3 separate regions of the Homo sapiens genome follow, and all the other regions are linked to region 3. Evidence: promoter capture Hi-C in human tissues and cell types (Jung and others, 2019). All regions are on one chromosome and are shown on one strand. Each heading gives the region's core, a stretch centred on a gene start or on the middle of the fragment in contact. The rest is flanking DNA. Distances are from core to core; before and after follow the strand shown.

The links. Contacts are between HindIII fragments. The study calls those that stand out against the background at their distance.
Region 1: a fragment that was not itself captured here is called in contact with the fragment with the promoter of BIRC5 in region 3 in 2 of the 25 tissues and cell types used here (dorsolateral prefrontal cortex and spleen).
Region 2: a contact is called between a fragment that was not itself captured here and the fragment with the promoter of BIRC5 in region 3, in 1 of the 25 tissues and cell types used here (dorsolateral prefrontal cortex).

What each region holds. Positions count from the first base shown.
Region 1 is chr17:78,704,563-78,709,725 of GRCh38, reverse strand. It overlaps CYTH1 (cytohesin 1), which reads left to right. Exons shown (of 14, transcript NM_004762.6): 2 at 1-76; 3 at 1,465-1,529. Among named protein-coding and RNA genes, the nearest start is that of SCAT1, 75 kb to the right of the region's middle. The HindIII fragment of the contact is 3,609 bases long and covers 311-3,919 here.
Region 2 is chr17:77,754,565-77,759,142 of GRCh38, reverse strand. No RefSeq gene overlaps it. Among named protein-coding and RNA genes, the nearest start is that of LINC01987, 28 kb to the right of the region's middle. The HindIII fragment of the contact is 7,345 bases long and covers 1-4,578 here.
Region 3 is chr17:78,211,521-78,216,367 of GRCh38, reverse strand. BIRC5 (baculoviral IAP repeat containing 5) reads right to left here and starts at 2,115. Exons shown (of 4, transcript NM_001168.3): 1 at 1,941-2,115; 2 at 1,579-1,688. The coding sequence starts at 2,051. RefSeq lists an enhancer at 1,469-2,370 and a silencer at 4,267-4,470. The HindIII fragment of the contact is 20,243 bases long and covers 1-4,847 here.

The sequences.
Region 1 (5,163 bases), core at 866-3,365, 490 kb before region 3:
TGACCTGACAGCAGAGGAGCGTCAAGAACTGGAGAACATCCGACGGAGAAAACAGGAGCTGCTGGCTGACATTCAGGTAGGAGAGTGGCATGGTGGTTTCACCAACGTAAGAACCACAGTGACAGTTCCATTTGTATGAAAGGGTGTCCTTTGCAGAGTGTCTCCTCAAGACACTTTTGACCTGCCCTCACTACAGCTCTGCACAAAGCGTAGGTGTTGATAATCAGTCACCTTTCCTCTACAGCTGAGGAGATGCAGTGTCAGAGAGGTTGAGTGGCTTGTCCAGGTTCACCCAGTTGGTCGGTTGTCGGAGCTGGAGATAGCCTGCAAGACTCCTGTCTCCTGAGTAGTCCTCTCTGCTGTGTTTGCCCTTGCGGAGCAGAGTGGATGAGGAGAGGCAATGAGAATGTGGGCTTCAGGCGAAGCTCGGCCCACGCCCTGGCTCTGGCTCTGCCGCTTACTGGCTGAATGATTTGAGACAAGAGAGTTCCGGTTCCTTGAACTTCAGTTTCTTCATCTGTCAGATCATGAAAACACCTGCTACACAGTTGGAAGGACTTAGCATGAAAGACAGCATAATTTCTGGTCCCTATAGATGTACTTAGTGATAGCAATTTTACAATTACAATTTTTCCAAGTTCCTTTTTGTAACTATCAAGCTTGTAGGAAATAAGTCTAGAAGCCAATAGTTGGATTATTTTCGCCCTAAGACAGCAAATGTTATTCTTTCAGAATTCTTCACAAGACATTAGGAGTGGGGTTAAGGAGGGAATCCTGTTGCCCAAAGTAGCAAAATGAGGAAAGACTTGACTTTCTCTGGAGTTGATTTAAGTATATTTTGATAGTTCTCCCTGATCCTTTGATTTCTGCTTCACTGGTAGATCGTGAGAAAGCTAAGCAGCTCTCCACTTAAGCCCCACTTCCCCGTGAGAGCCCATCCATTCTGACCAACAGTGTGCTGGAATGAGGAGGGTGGGTGCGGATGCACAGCCGATTTGATCAGACATTCCCTTTGCCAGCCGCTTGGTGGCATTGTTGCCCTGGCACAGCTACTGCAGGCTCTGCAGCCTGGGCTTTGGGTAGGAGACTTTGTCCTCTGAATTTTCTGGCATGCTTGTGTTTAGTAAGCTGCAGACTTGTTCTGAAAGATTGTGATGAGGCAGCCAGGTTTTGTTTTTCACACAGCATATATGCTTATAAACTTTCCTAGACCGTAAACTCCTTGAGGTCAGAGGCTGTATTCTTTTCTACCTTGGTGTTTTCTGGAATGCTTACTGTTTGGTAGGCACTCAATAAATATTTCTGAAACATGAATTTTCCTAATTTACTTTTTGCATTTTTGTCATATTTTGTTTCATTTTGCTTTATTTTGTTTTTGGTTGGAGGGAGTTATGTGAGATTTTAGAAGTTTTAATTTGATCTGCATCTGCCTTTCCTGCTGACTCTGGACTGTCTGTTTTATAGAGGCTGAAGGATGAGATAGCAGAAGTAGCTAATGAAATTGAAAACCTGGGATCCACAGAGGAAAGGTGAGTCTGCCCTGCTGCCAGGTGGCTTCTGTGGTTGTAATTCCTTAAAGCACCCAGGCCTTAATTATGCTTACGTGGCACATTGAAGGAAAAAGTCAGCTTTGTGTCTTTCTAATTCTAGCAAGCACATACACACCCATAATGTCTGCCTTCCATCCTTCACCGCAAGGCCTCCTGAACATAGGAGCTTCTTCCAGTGTTTAAAAAATTGAACTGGAGGCCGGGCGCGGTGGCTCACGGCTGTAATCCCAGCACTTTGGGAGGCCGAGGCAGGTGGATCACGAGGTCAAGAGATCGAGACCATCCTGGCCAACATGGTGAAACCCTGTCTCTACTCAAAATACAAAAATTAGACGGGTGTGGTGGTGCACACCTGTAGTCCCAGCTACTCGGGAGGCTGAGGCAGGAGAATTGCTTGAACCCGGGAGGTGGAGGTTGCAGTGAGCTGAGATCGCGCCACTGCACTCCAGCCTGGTGACAGAGCGAGACTCCGTCTCAAAAAAAAAAAAAAAAATTGAACTGGAGAACTTCAAAGGTCCCAGAAAGCCTTAAACTGCTCCTAAATTTTTATGTGAATTACTCCCCTCTGTTGTCCACTGTCGGTGTGCATTTTAAAGTTTCTGTTTTTCCTTTGTGTAAAGGAAAAGCTTAATGAATGCTGCTGATACGATTTCAAAGGGCTGGAGTGTCCAGTCATGTCTGAGGATAATCGTGAGCTTATTTGCACCTTCCTAATGCTTAAGGGAAGAAAATGTAGAAATGCGATGATAGTATAAAAGGACAAGGACTCTGCTTTTTTTTTTCCTTTTATTTTCATGAAATGTTAGTGACTTTGAGAGTTTAGTTTTGAATGGGGTTCCCAGACCGTTTTCTGACTGCTTAATGCAATAAATGAGCTGTTTCCAATTCACTACATGTCTGTATTTTTCTAAGCCTAAGTCTTCCTGTCTGGCTTCGTAGGACTGTTTGATTTGTTGTTTTAGACTCCTGTGGGCAGTGCCTTCAGGGTATAGTGAGGCTGAGTCCTCCACAGAAGGCAGCCAGCTCACCACGGCCAGTCTCTGTATTGTCCATTTGGTATTTTGGATTAGTTTCCCCTCTTTCCATTTTAAACACTCGTAGCTTAAATGAAACGGATACGTTGGACTTCATAAAAATTTAAAACTTCCGCTTTTGTAAAAGATAAAACTATTAAAAACTATTAAAAGAAATGAACAGGCAACAGATTAGAAGTAAATATTTGTAACAAATATATCTGAAAAAGGACTTGTATCTAGAATATATGATAGAAAGGCAGCCCAAATAAGAAAATGGGCAAAAAACTTGGACACTTTACAAAAGAAGCCATATGTGTAGTAGACACATGAAAAATGCTTAACATCATTAGTTGTAGGGGATGTAATTTAAAACCACCATGAAACGGTACTTCACATCCCCTATGATGGCTAGAATTAAAAAGACTGATGGTACCTCATGTTGGCAAGTGCTAGTGAGAATAAAATAATATAACCATTTGGGAAAGAAGTTTGGCAGTTTCATCAGCAATTCAACTCCTAGTTACTTAAGAGAAATGAAAACATGTCCATACAAAGACTTGTACAAGAATATCTATAGCATTCTTATATAAAATAACCAAAAGCTGGAAATACCCTGAATGGCTGCCAGCAGGTGACTGGATAAACAGGTCGAGGTAATAGACTATTACTCAGCAGTGTGAAGGAATGAACTGCTAGCGTGCAGCAGCACGGATGAATCTCACGAACATTGTGATGAGTGAAAGAAACTGTGGGCACCGTGTGCTTCCATGCGTGAGCATCTAGAACATGCAAACTAAGCTGTGCTAGTGTGCTAGCCGAAATCATGACAGTGCTGCCTCCGAGGTGGTTGCTGGGGCGGGGTGGGGTGGGGTTGACTAGGAAGGGCCATAGGGAACTTACAGGGATGGCAGGAATATTCTGTATTAATCTGAGTGGTGCTTCAAGGGTATATGCACTCATCAAAACAAATTGAACTGTGCACTTAAGGTGTGTGCATTTTGTTAAATGTAAATTTTACCTCGATCTTAAAAATGTAAAAAAAAATGGCTTTTTTCTGACTATAAAGGTAATACACCTTTACTGCAGAAAATTGGTAAAATACAGAAAAGTATAAAAAACAAATTTCTCATAAACACTTATCCCAGAGATAATCAGGATTCATATTTTGGTACGTTTCCTTTCTGTATATTCCGGTGTCTGCACACACATATTCAGAATTCAGTGTGCCCTTTGTTTTTCTCTTGATTAATTCTCTGTCAGTTACCATAGAACAGCAAGGAAACGCAGACACCAGGAACGTGAGTGCATCCAAAGTACTCAGCCAGTGAATTTGGGAAGACTTGTAACTCATGAACTGCATCTGAAGTTGTGAGTCAGGAAGTAGTCTTTAGGTTATTATTATTTTTTAATCTGGAACTTAAAATGGTTTTCCGGTATCGAAAGCGCCAAGACGGAAGTGATTCTGCACATCCCTGAGGATCCATCCATACGGGTACTCAGGCTCACCCTGCATTTGTTTCTCAAGCAGGCATTACATTTGCTCGGACTTTCTTATAGGAGAGAATTCATGTTTCTCATCGACGATCTGATGCATTTTGTAGGAATGATCCTAAATACTATTTAATCAAGCAGAAATAATATACTCATGTAGTACAGGATTTCACTTTCTGAAATGTATACGCGTCAGTTAACTAAGGCGATCCAGTAGCAGTAAGCTGTTTTCCTTTGGACACCTTAACTGGGGTGTCAGACCTGTGTAGGCTGGGGAAAGCCACTTAGAGAAGTAGCTGCCTAAGGCCTAGAGCTATAGGGGCTCCAAGTGGGGCAGATAGAGAAGTGAGCTGGCTAGCTAATGAAATTAGGGAGCCATCTCTGGTGTGTGTCCCAGGCAGTCATGTGGCACAGACTGTGACTGGCGGATATCTGGGAGTGTGCGTTCTGGTGGCTGCAGGAAAGCCTTTGGTGAGGACTGGACTGAGGCCCAGGAAGCTGAGCATTCCCAGGAGTTTCACCCCTTGCTTCTGTGGGCACCTCTGACGCTGCCTCACCACTTACACTGGAAACCATGAAACAGGCCTTCCTTGTGGTATTTGTTTGGAAATACTGATCAAAGTAATCTTCCTGGATTTAGAAAAAAATGATTAGACAATCATTTTAGTTAAATAGGAATTTCTAGATACCTGGTCATAACCCTTCATTCTGGCTGAAATTAAATGGTGTTTCCCCCATGACTTTGTTTCCTAAGGCAGCTGTTGACAGGGGAGCCCAGATTATCTTACACCTGGAAGTTCTGATACTACTCACAGTTTTCAGGTGTTCCTTTCAAAAGGTCAAAACAGCCTGGATGCGATGACTCATGCCTATAATACCAGCATTTTGGGAGGCCAAGGTAGGAGGATTGCTTGAGGCCAGGAGTTTAAGACCAGCCTGGGTTACATAGCAAGACTCTGTCTCTACAAAATATTTTAAAAAGTAGCCAGTTGTGGTAGTATCTGCTTGTAGTCCTAGTTACTCAGGAGGCTGAGGCCGGAGGATCACTTGAGCTCAGGAGTTAAAGGTTGCGGTGAGCCACAGTCACACCACTGTACTCCAGCCTG
Region 2 (4,578 bases), core at 1,565-4,064, 460 kb after region 3:
TGCCGTCATGGTGCTGTGACAGTCACAGTGTTGTTGGCGAGTGATATTTCTTGTATTCGCATGGTGGAACTATTATGAAATGAGGGCTACATCTCTTTCCCACCATGGGTTCAGAGATGTCATGTCGTTGGTTTGAAATTGGCTGCAATATGGCTGGGCACAGTGGCTCACGCCTGTTATCCCAGCACTTTGGGAGGCTGAGGCGAGCAGATCACGAGGTCAGGAGATTGAGACCATCCTAGCTAACACAGTGAAACCCCGTGTCTACTAAAAATACAAAAAATTAGCCTGGCGTGGTGGTGGGCGCCTGTAGTCCCAGCTACTCGGGAGGCTGAGGCAGGACAATGGTGTGAACGTGGGAGACGGAACTTGCAGTGAGCCGAGATCGTGCCACTGCACTCCAGCCTGGGAGACAGAGCGAGAGTCCATCTCAAAAAAAAAAAAAAAGAGAAGTTTATAAACTTCAGTTATGTATTCTGGCCAATTAATGGGAGGGAGACAAAGAGAAAAGCTGAAATAGAGGAGAAAAAGGAAGGGAAAGGAGGAAGCAGAGAAAGAATGAGAGATGAGAGTGAGGGAGAACTTTGAAGAAGGCCAGAGAAAGAAAACAATAGGCCGGGTTCAGTGGCTCACACCTGTAATCCCAGCACTTTGAGAGGCTGAGGCGAGCGGATCACCTGAGGTCAGGAGTTCAAGACCAGCCTGGCCAAAATGGCAAAACCGCATCTCTACTAAAAATACAAAAATCAGCTGGGCGTGGTTGTGGGCCCCTGTAATCCCAGCTACTTGGGAGGCTGAAGCAGGAGAATCGCTTGAACCCAGGAGGTGGAGGCTGCAGTGAGCTGAGATTGCACCATTGTACTCCAGCCTGGGCGAAAAGAACGAAACTCCATCTCAAAAAAAAAGGACCAAGCTGCTTCCTTTGGTTGCCTCCATCCTGTTGGTGGGTCCAGCCACCTGAGCGTTGGAACCCCAGCACTGAGGGCAGCATGAAAAGGTGAGGTGCTGACCTTGTCCTTCCCCACCCGAGCCCAGAGCCTGGGAGAAAGGAGTATGTTGCAGCGGGGGTCTTCCTGTTGTGGAGGGTGCCGTGCGGGAAGTGGGGTGACAGTAGCAGTTTCCAGTGTTGGTGTTTGTCAGCATTTCCAAGAAGGGCAGAGGAAGGCCAGGCTGGGCTTACTGATGTCCCTACTTCCTGGTCCCCAGGGGGAGCCCCTGAAATTTATCCCCAGTCACCTGCTCTTCACGATCCTGCTCTTGATGGGAGAGACAGAACACCAGTCTTCCTCTGGAGAGACGTTTCTCCAGACACTCAAGGGCCCATATACATGACAATTACTGCTTAAAAATGTATCTGTTTGCTACATGCCTGCAAGTGGGTGTAAATCATACAGCGGCCATAAAACCAGCCATAACCCACGCATGGCCGGGACCCCAGGAGCTCCTGCTACAGGCTGGGCGGCTTTATCTCAGCGGCTCAGAGGGAGAAGCCCTGCCTTTATGTTGGGAGGAACTAGAAGAGCCTAATTTTATTTATTTTTAATCAACCATTTCAGCATGTTCCCTCTAGTCAAAGGCAGAGCTGGAGTGCGACACAGTCACATCATTTATATTTAGCTTTTATTTACCCAGGGAAGTCTTGGGAGATGTAGTATCTCGTTTGTAGAGACACCCCAGTGGCAACATTCCATTACTCAGAGCCCTAAATGAGCTTTGCACAGACCCTGGGAGGGAGGGCAGGCGGACCTTCCACCGTCAGGAAGACTGAGCCTGCTGGGACCAGCTGCCTCCTGCCTTTGATGGCATTGGTTGGAGCCTTCAGCTTGGGCACTGGAAAAATACAAGGTAGACTCTTCCCTACAGCCTGCAGTTGGGAACCCTGTGTGTGCAGCTGGTCTGCCTTCCTGACAGGGTGGTCTTTGCTGCTCAGCCTCTCCTGGCCTCACCTGGCAGCCTGGTCCAGTCCACTACTCCTGTTTGCAGATGCCAAGAGGCTGGCTGCCCCTCCTTGGGTCAACTGCAGGACCTCTGTCCCCTACCACGTGGTTAACGCCTCCCACCCTGAGTGGGACTCCAGGATACCACTCTATCCTCACTCATCTTATTTTCTGGGGGAGGCGCAGGTTGATGGTTTCTGAGTCAGAGGCAGCAAGGCAGGGTGGGTGGTTTTTTTGTGATTCCTGCAAACTATAAACAGCCAGAAGCTTCTCCAGCCAATGTCCCTTGTCTCTCGCCTCTGTGGGCTCGGGAACACCCGAGCATGGTGGAATGGGGAGGGAGGAGGTGGGAGGGTTGAAATTCACTGGGGTCACGCGGAAATGAAGGGAGAAGTGGTTCATTTGAGCTCAAACGTCCTTCCCGTCCCTCTGTTTGGTAAAGTGAGGCCTGAGTGCCGGGCAAATGACCAGATCCAATATTCATTAGCGCTCCTGAGAGATGGATGGAGGCACCTCATTATGGGGTGCTTCACCTCCAACCCCCTCACCCACAGTGGATATTTACATAATAACCTGACCCCCGGGTTACTTTTCATTAACAAACACGTGTGAAAATGCAGAAGCCGCTGGCAATTTTGTATCATAAATACATATTGTTAACCCAGTGTAGACGGCTTACTTGCAGTTACTCAAAAAAGAGGGGGTCCCCTGTTCTTCATAGCCATTAGGTACCAGATGGAGGGGCCCCAGCAGAGTATGGTAGAGAGCTCTAGACTGTGCATTCAAGGTGGGTGGGGGGTGACATACCTCTTCATTTGAGTGCAGAGTTCAACATTCAATTAATGTCCTTGCAAGGGTTCTGGGTGTCCCTGCCTCACTCCCTTTGGAGGCCCTGAGGTCTGGGGAGCTAGGGACGGGGCATTTCAGGTTAACTTGTTAAGTGCTTGTGGCAGGGTCACCCTCCCTTCCCTGGCTGTGGGACGTGGAGAGAGAACCAGGGATGTGCACATTCAGTTCTGGGATGAATGCACCATGTTCCCTGAGTCACACGCTGAAGGGCCGTGGGGTCCCAGGCTGCCTTCTTGCTTTGGGTTGCCCTCTTCTTCTCTCTGGGGTTCTAGCCCATTTGTGCAGGGAGGGGGTTCTGGAGATGGGGGTCTCTGAGTGGTGTGGGGCGGTGCATGCTCTCTCTGACTGTCCTTCGTGCCAGGGACATTGTGTGTTCCTGGGGGGACACTGTGGTGTTCCCAGGAAGCAGGAAGGGTTCACCTCGGTGAAGCAGCCTGTGGCTCTGGTGGGGACAGGGGAGGGCTGAGCTAAGGAAGGGCTGGTGCCAAGGCCGGGGCATGCTGGGCTTCCCTCTGCCTTTCCAACCTCATAGCTCCTCTCCTGGAAAAGTGGAAATTCACCCGTGGGTCCCTGGGCAGCCTGCTACAGGCTCAGGGCTACAGTGTGGATGCCAGGCGACCCATAGGTTCTGCTGGAAAGACCCTCTCTGGCTCACAAGGTGCTCCCTGGTAGGCTGTACCTGAGAGCTGTCCTAGGCCATGGACAGCCAGAACCCCGATGTGTCATCCCCGACTCATTTCCTGGCTGTTGCTTTGAGTCCAGTGGCTCATCTCTGGAGTGACCCCGCTGACCACACTCACAGATTGACATCAAAGACCAGAGGTCAGTTCTCCATTTGCCATATGGAGAACAACTTGGCAGACCCGCTGCCTATGTGAGCTGATCTGGATTCTTTCCCTGTAGGCCAGCTCCACGGACCATTGGCTAGCATGGCTAACACAAACTAAGTGCCACTCATATGCCATGTGTATTAGTTACCTATTGCTGTGTAACAAATTACCCCAAAACTTAGTGGCTTAAAATAAGAAATGTTGGTTATCTCACAAAGTTTCTGAGGTCTTGGGAATCTGAGCATGGCTTTACTGGGTGGTTGTGGCTCAAAGTCTTTCATGAGGTTGCAGTGCAGCTGTCAGCCAGGGCCACTGCCTCTACAGGTTGAACAGGGGCAGAAGAATCCACATCTACAGTGGCTCCCTCACTTTGCCGTCGGTTGGGGGCCTTTGTTCATCGCCATGTGGCCCTCCCCATAGGGCTGCTTGAGTGTCCTCACAACATGGCAGCCGACTTTCCCTGAGCATGTGAAGAAGAACAAAAGGAAGAAGCCACCCAGCCTTTTATGACCTGGTTTTGCAAGTGGCGTTGTTATGTCTGCAATATTTCATTCATTAGAAGGGAGTCACTAAGTTCAGCCCACCTTCAAGAAGAGAAAAATTAAATTCCACCTCTTAAAGGGAGGAGAATCAAAGAATGTAAGAACATATTTAAAGACTACCACAGTAGGCGTAAGGTTAGGTGCTTAACATGTGTTGCCTCATTTAATCCTCAGGACAACTCCCATCTTACAGACGAGGAAACCAAAGCTCAGAATGGTTACAGGAGGTGTCCTTGTTCACACGGCTGCTTAATTGCAGTCAAGATTTGGAGTCAGATCATGTAGACCAGTGCTACTCAGCAGAACTTTCTACAGTGGCAGAATGGTTCTGGGTATGCTGTCCAGCGTGGTAGCCCCTGGCCACATGTGACCACTGAGCACTTGAAGTGTAGCTAGTCAATGTCGTCCCAGTCAAAGACC
Region 3 (4,847 bases), core at 866-3,365:
CAAAGGAATTACATGTCAAATCCCTCCAACATTCTCAAGGAACTGTTTGAAGTAATTTCATTTCACTGGAATTGTTATGTAATCCACTGTAAAGATTTTTTTCTTTTTTTTTTTTTTTTGAGACGGAGTCTCATTCTGTCGCCCAGGCTGGAGTGCAGTGGTGCAATCTCGGCTCACTGCAAGCTCCGCCTCCTGGGTTCACGCCATTCTCCTGCCTCAGCCTCCCGAGTAGCTGGGACTACAGGCGCCCACCACCACGCCCGGCTAATTTTTTGTATTTTTAGTGGAGACGGGGTTTCACCGTATTAGCCAAGATGGTCTCGATCTCCTGACCTCGTGATCCGCCCGCCTCGGCCTCCCAAAGTGCTGGTATTACAGGCGTAAGCCACCGTGCCCGGCCCACTGTAAGGATTAAGGGCAGAGAAGGGCATTATTGCCCCGGGTTCCCCAAGGGACCCCCTAGCTCACACTCTCATTTTCTGCTAGGGGAGTCTCCCTGTATAACTGACTATCACCGTTACCAGAACTGCATTACAATGAAAACATGGCCACACAAAGTCCAAAAAGACAGCCAGTTGTAACTCTAATCTGAAAATATCATAACACTTATTCATTTTCAAGAAGAATACCACTGATCTTTTCCCAGTGATTACGGGGATGCAGTATAACCACCATAGCAAACATACTAAGAAAAAAAACAGCTACTCTCTTCTGGCCAAAAAGAAAAACAACTGGGGTGATTCTCCAGGGGAAAAAAATTAAAGCTGTGGAAGCAACTGAATCCGACAGAAAAAAAGGTGAGAAAAGAATATGGCATTACAGTGTGGAAAGACAGATACCATCCGAGTACAGAATTTCATTGTCATTAACTAGGCATCTTGAAGAAAAAAATCCAGAACAACACTGAAGTATATGCTTTCTTTCTTTTTTTTTTTTCAATTTTTTATTTTTATGACGGAGTCTCGCTCTGTCGCCGAGGCTGGAGTGCATTGGCACAATCTCGGCTCACTGCAACCTCCGCCTCCCAGGTTCAAGCGATTCTCCTGCCTTAGCCTCCCGAGTAGCTGGGATTACGGGCGTGCGCTACCATGCCCGGCTAATTTTTGTATTTTTAGTAGAGACGGGGTTTCGCCAAGTTGGCCAGGCAGGTCTTGAACTCCTGACCTCAGGTGATCCGCCCGCCTCAGCCTCCGAAAGTGTGAAGTGCACACTTTCAAAGGGTAATTTTTGTGCTGTGTAGGTTATATTTCAATTAAACTGTTTTTTAAAAAATCTCAAAAAAAGCACTTGGACGTTCCTGGGAGTTCACAACAACAGGGTCTGCTGATGTATTCTGTTGAACATGAAAGGCATCAGGCATCTTACGTCCACCCCAAGGCATTTTGGTCAAATGAGATTTAATTAGGTTGTAAGCATCACCAAGGCACCAGCATATAGAGAGGTATCCGTTCACAACAGCTGTTTAAGAAGCAATGAGGGTGGAAAGCAACCCTCCCATACTAAGTGTCTTTGCAACTCAAATCTTTTGACAACTCAGTTCAAAACAAAGCCCATCGAGGCTGGCCAGAGAAGACTTACATGGGGTCGTCATCTGGCTCCCAGCCTTCCAGCTCCTTGAAGCAGAAGAAACACTGGGCCAAGTCTGGCTCGTTCTCAGTGGGGCAGTGGATGAAGCCAGCCTCGGCCATCTGCAAGGGACAGCACAGCTCGTGAGTGGACGTGGCAGCCCGGAACCCCGAGGCCCAGCCACAAAGGCCTCGATGGGGACAAAGCAGGGAGGGGAGGCCGGCCTGGACCCAAGGGGCCCAGCCACAGTGGCCTCGCTGGGGACAGGACGGGGAGGGGAGGGCGGCTTGTACCCCCGAGGCCCAGTCACAGTGGCCTCGCTAGGGACAGGGCAAGGCGGGCGTGGGGGACCCCAGGAGGCCGGGCAGTCTCACCCGCTCCGGGGTGCAGGCGCAGCCCTCCAAGAAGGGCCAGTTCTTGAATGTAGAGATGCGGTGGTCCTTGAGAAAGGGCTGCCAGGCAGGGGGCAACGTCGGGGCACCCATGCCGCCGCCGCCACCTCTGCCAACGGGTCCCGCGATTCAAATCTGGCGGTTAATGGCGCGCCGCGGGGCATGTCGGGAGCGCACGCCCTCTTAGGCGGTCCACCCCCCGCGGCCTTCTGGGAGTAGAGGCGGGGCGGCGCGGGGTGTGCCGGGAGTTGTAGTCCTCCCGCCGCGTGGCTCTGCCCGTGGTCGCGGTGCACCCAGCGACGCCGCGCCAGCTCGTCCCTGCCCACACCTAGCGCCCCCTCGACTGCTTTCAAAGAACGCGTGCAGGCCGGGTGCAGTGGCTCACGCCTGTAATCCCAACACTTTGAGAGGCCTAGGCAGGAGCATCACTTGAGTCCTGGAGTTCAAGACCAGCCTGGCCATCACGGTGAAACCTTGTCTCTACTAAAAATACAAAAATTAGCTGGGCGTGGTGGTGCATGCCTGTAATCCCAACTACTCGGGAGGCTGAGGCAGGAGAATCGCTTGAACCCGGGAGGCAGAGGGTGCAGTGAGCTGAGATTGTGCCATTGCACTCCAGCCTAGGCAACAAGAGCAAAACTCAGTCTAAAAAAAAAAAAAAAGTCAGACAGGAGAGCTTTACAGGGTGCCACCTCTGCAAAAAGCATCTACTCCAGACGGGCATGAAGGACAAATGAACAGGGGAGGGATGGAGTGCAGCAGACATCGCTGTCCCGGCGAGTACATCGTTGACTGCACGACCTGGGTTTCCAGGAGGGCCACCTTCTGGAGTCAGGGGCCAGGGACTGGGCCACTACCGTGATAAGAAGACAAGGGAGCTGGGGAAAGCCCAGTGGAGGGTGGGGGCCTGTGCTCAGGGCAAACTCCTCCTTTCCCTTCGCAAAGCAGGGCGTCCCACCAACAGTAAGTCCTGCAGCCTATTAAAAAAAAAATCAGTGTGTCCTCTGCTTTGGAACAGGGTGTTCTGGAGTCACTTCTGGAGCTGGGCATCACATCCACTCACTTCTCTGGTTCTATGGCCAGAGATAAGAGGCCTGGCCTTATTAGCCCTCCAGCCCCACGCAGGCCTGGTGCCTCCACTGTCTTTTTCATTTTGGGGTTTATTTATTTATTTATTTATTTTTGCAACCTCTCCCCACCCCTCCCACCCCGCCCCCATTCTTTAATACAGTAACTTTTTATTTTGATGTTTATTTATTTATTTGAAACTGAGTCTCGCTCTATCGCCCAGGCTGGAGTGCAGTGGCATGATCTCAGCTCACTGCAACCTCCTCCCCGCCACGGGTTCAAGCGATTCTCCTGCCTCAGCCTCCCGAGTAGCTGAGATTAAAGGCATGCACCACCACACCAGGCTAATTTTTGTATTTTTAGTAGAGATGGGGTTTCACCATGTTTGCCAGGCTGGTCTCAAACTCCTGACCTCAAGTGATCTGCCTGCCTCGGCCTCCCAAAGTGCTGGGATTACAGATGTGAGCCACTGCGCCCGGCCCGATGTCAATTTAAATAAAAGATAATTGCAAGAATAGTACAAAGAATACTCATATACCCTTCACCCAGATTTTCTGTTTATGTTTTGCCTGTTTCCTTTAACATTCACTCTCTGCTTCTTCCTCCCTTTCTCTCCTCCTCTCCCTCTCTTACCCCTTCCCTCTCTCTACTCCCCGCTCTCTCTCTGTCTCCTGTTTTCCTTTCTCTCTCCCTCTCCCCAACCTACTTTCTCTCCCCTAGTCTCTCTCCCCTCATATATGTGAACACACACACATCCCTGTATGTGTATATATCACATGCATGTATATGTATGTATATGGGTGGTTTACCTGAACCGTTTGTAAGTTGAAGGCATTACCATACTACCCCGAAATACTTCATTCTCTTACACAACCACAACACAATCATCAAAATCAGGAAACTTAACTTCGCTGCAGTTATCAAATCCAGTTGACTTTGGCAGGTCGCCCCTGGGTCCTGCTGATTGGCTCGCTAACCGGGCCCTGGCACCACCATGGCCTCTGCTGGGGTGGCCCCCAGGCACAGACCAAGGACGCACCACCTCCACTGGCAACCGCAGCAGTTGCCTGCCCTCAGGAGGGAGGAAAGGAACAACTCCTTTTCACTTTTTTTTTTTTTTTTTGAGACAGAGTCTTGCTCTGTCGCCAGGCTGGAGTGCAGTGCAGTGGCACAATCTTGGCTCACTGCAACCTCCATCTCCTGGGTTCCAGCAATTCTCTGCCTCAGCCCCCCCAGTAGCTGGGATTACATGCGCCCGCCACCATGCCCGGCTAATTTTTTTGTATTTTTAGTAGAGACGGGGTTTCACCATCTTGGCCAGGCTGGTATTGAACTCCTGACCTCGTGATCCACCCGCCTCAGCCTCCCAAAGTGCTGGGATTACAGGCATAAGCCAGCATGCCCGGCCTAACTCCTTTTCACTTCTGCACACAATGTCATCAAATGCATGGACAAGGACAGCCCAGGTGTCCACCTGGACCTGAACACCCTCAAAACCGAGTTCCAGGAGCTTCAAAAGCTCATGGGCACCGGGCCCCCAGCATCCTCCCGAGCCCGAGCAGCAGCTGCAGCCCCACAGCATCCAGGTGTAAGTTAGGACCAGAAGGGGCTTCTACAAAAGTGCCAGAGTCTCTGCACATTTGAAATCCCTGAGAAGCAGAGTGAGGCTGACTTCAGGAATGGCTGAGAAAGACGGGGGGAAGCAGTGGCCTGTGTGCCCCGACCCCCACACAGTCCCTCGGGGTGTGGTCCCTTTGGACCCCAGCTCTGATTTCAAGCTGCCTGGGGTGGGGCTGCTGTGCTGTGCCCAGCTTGAATATA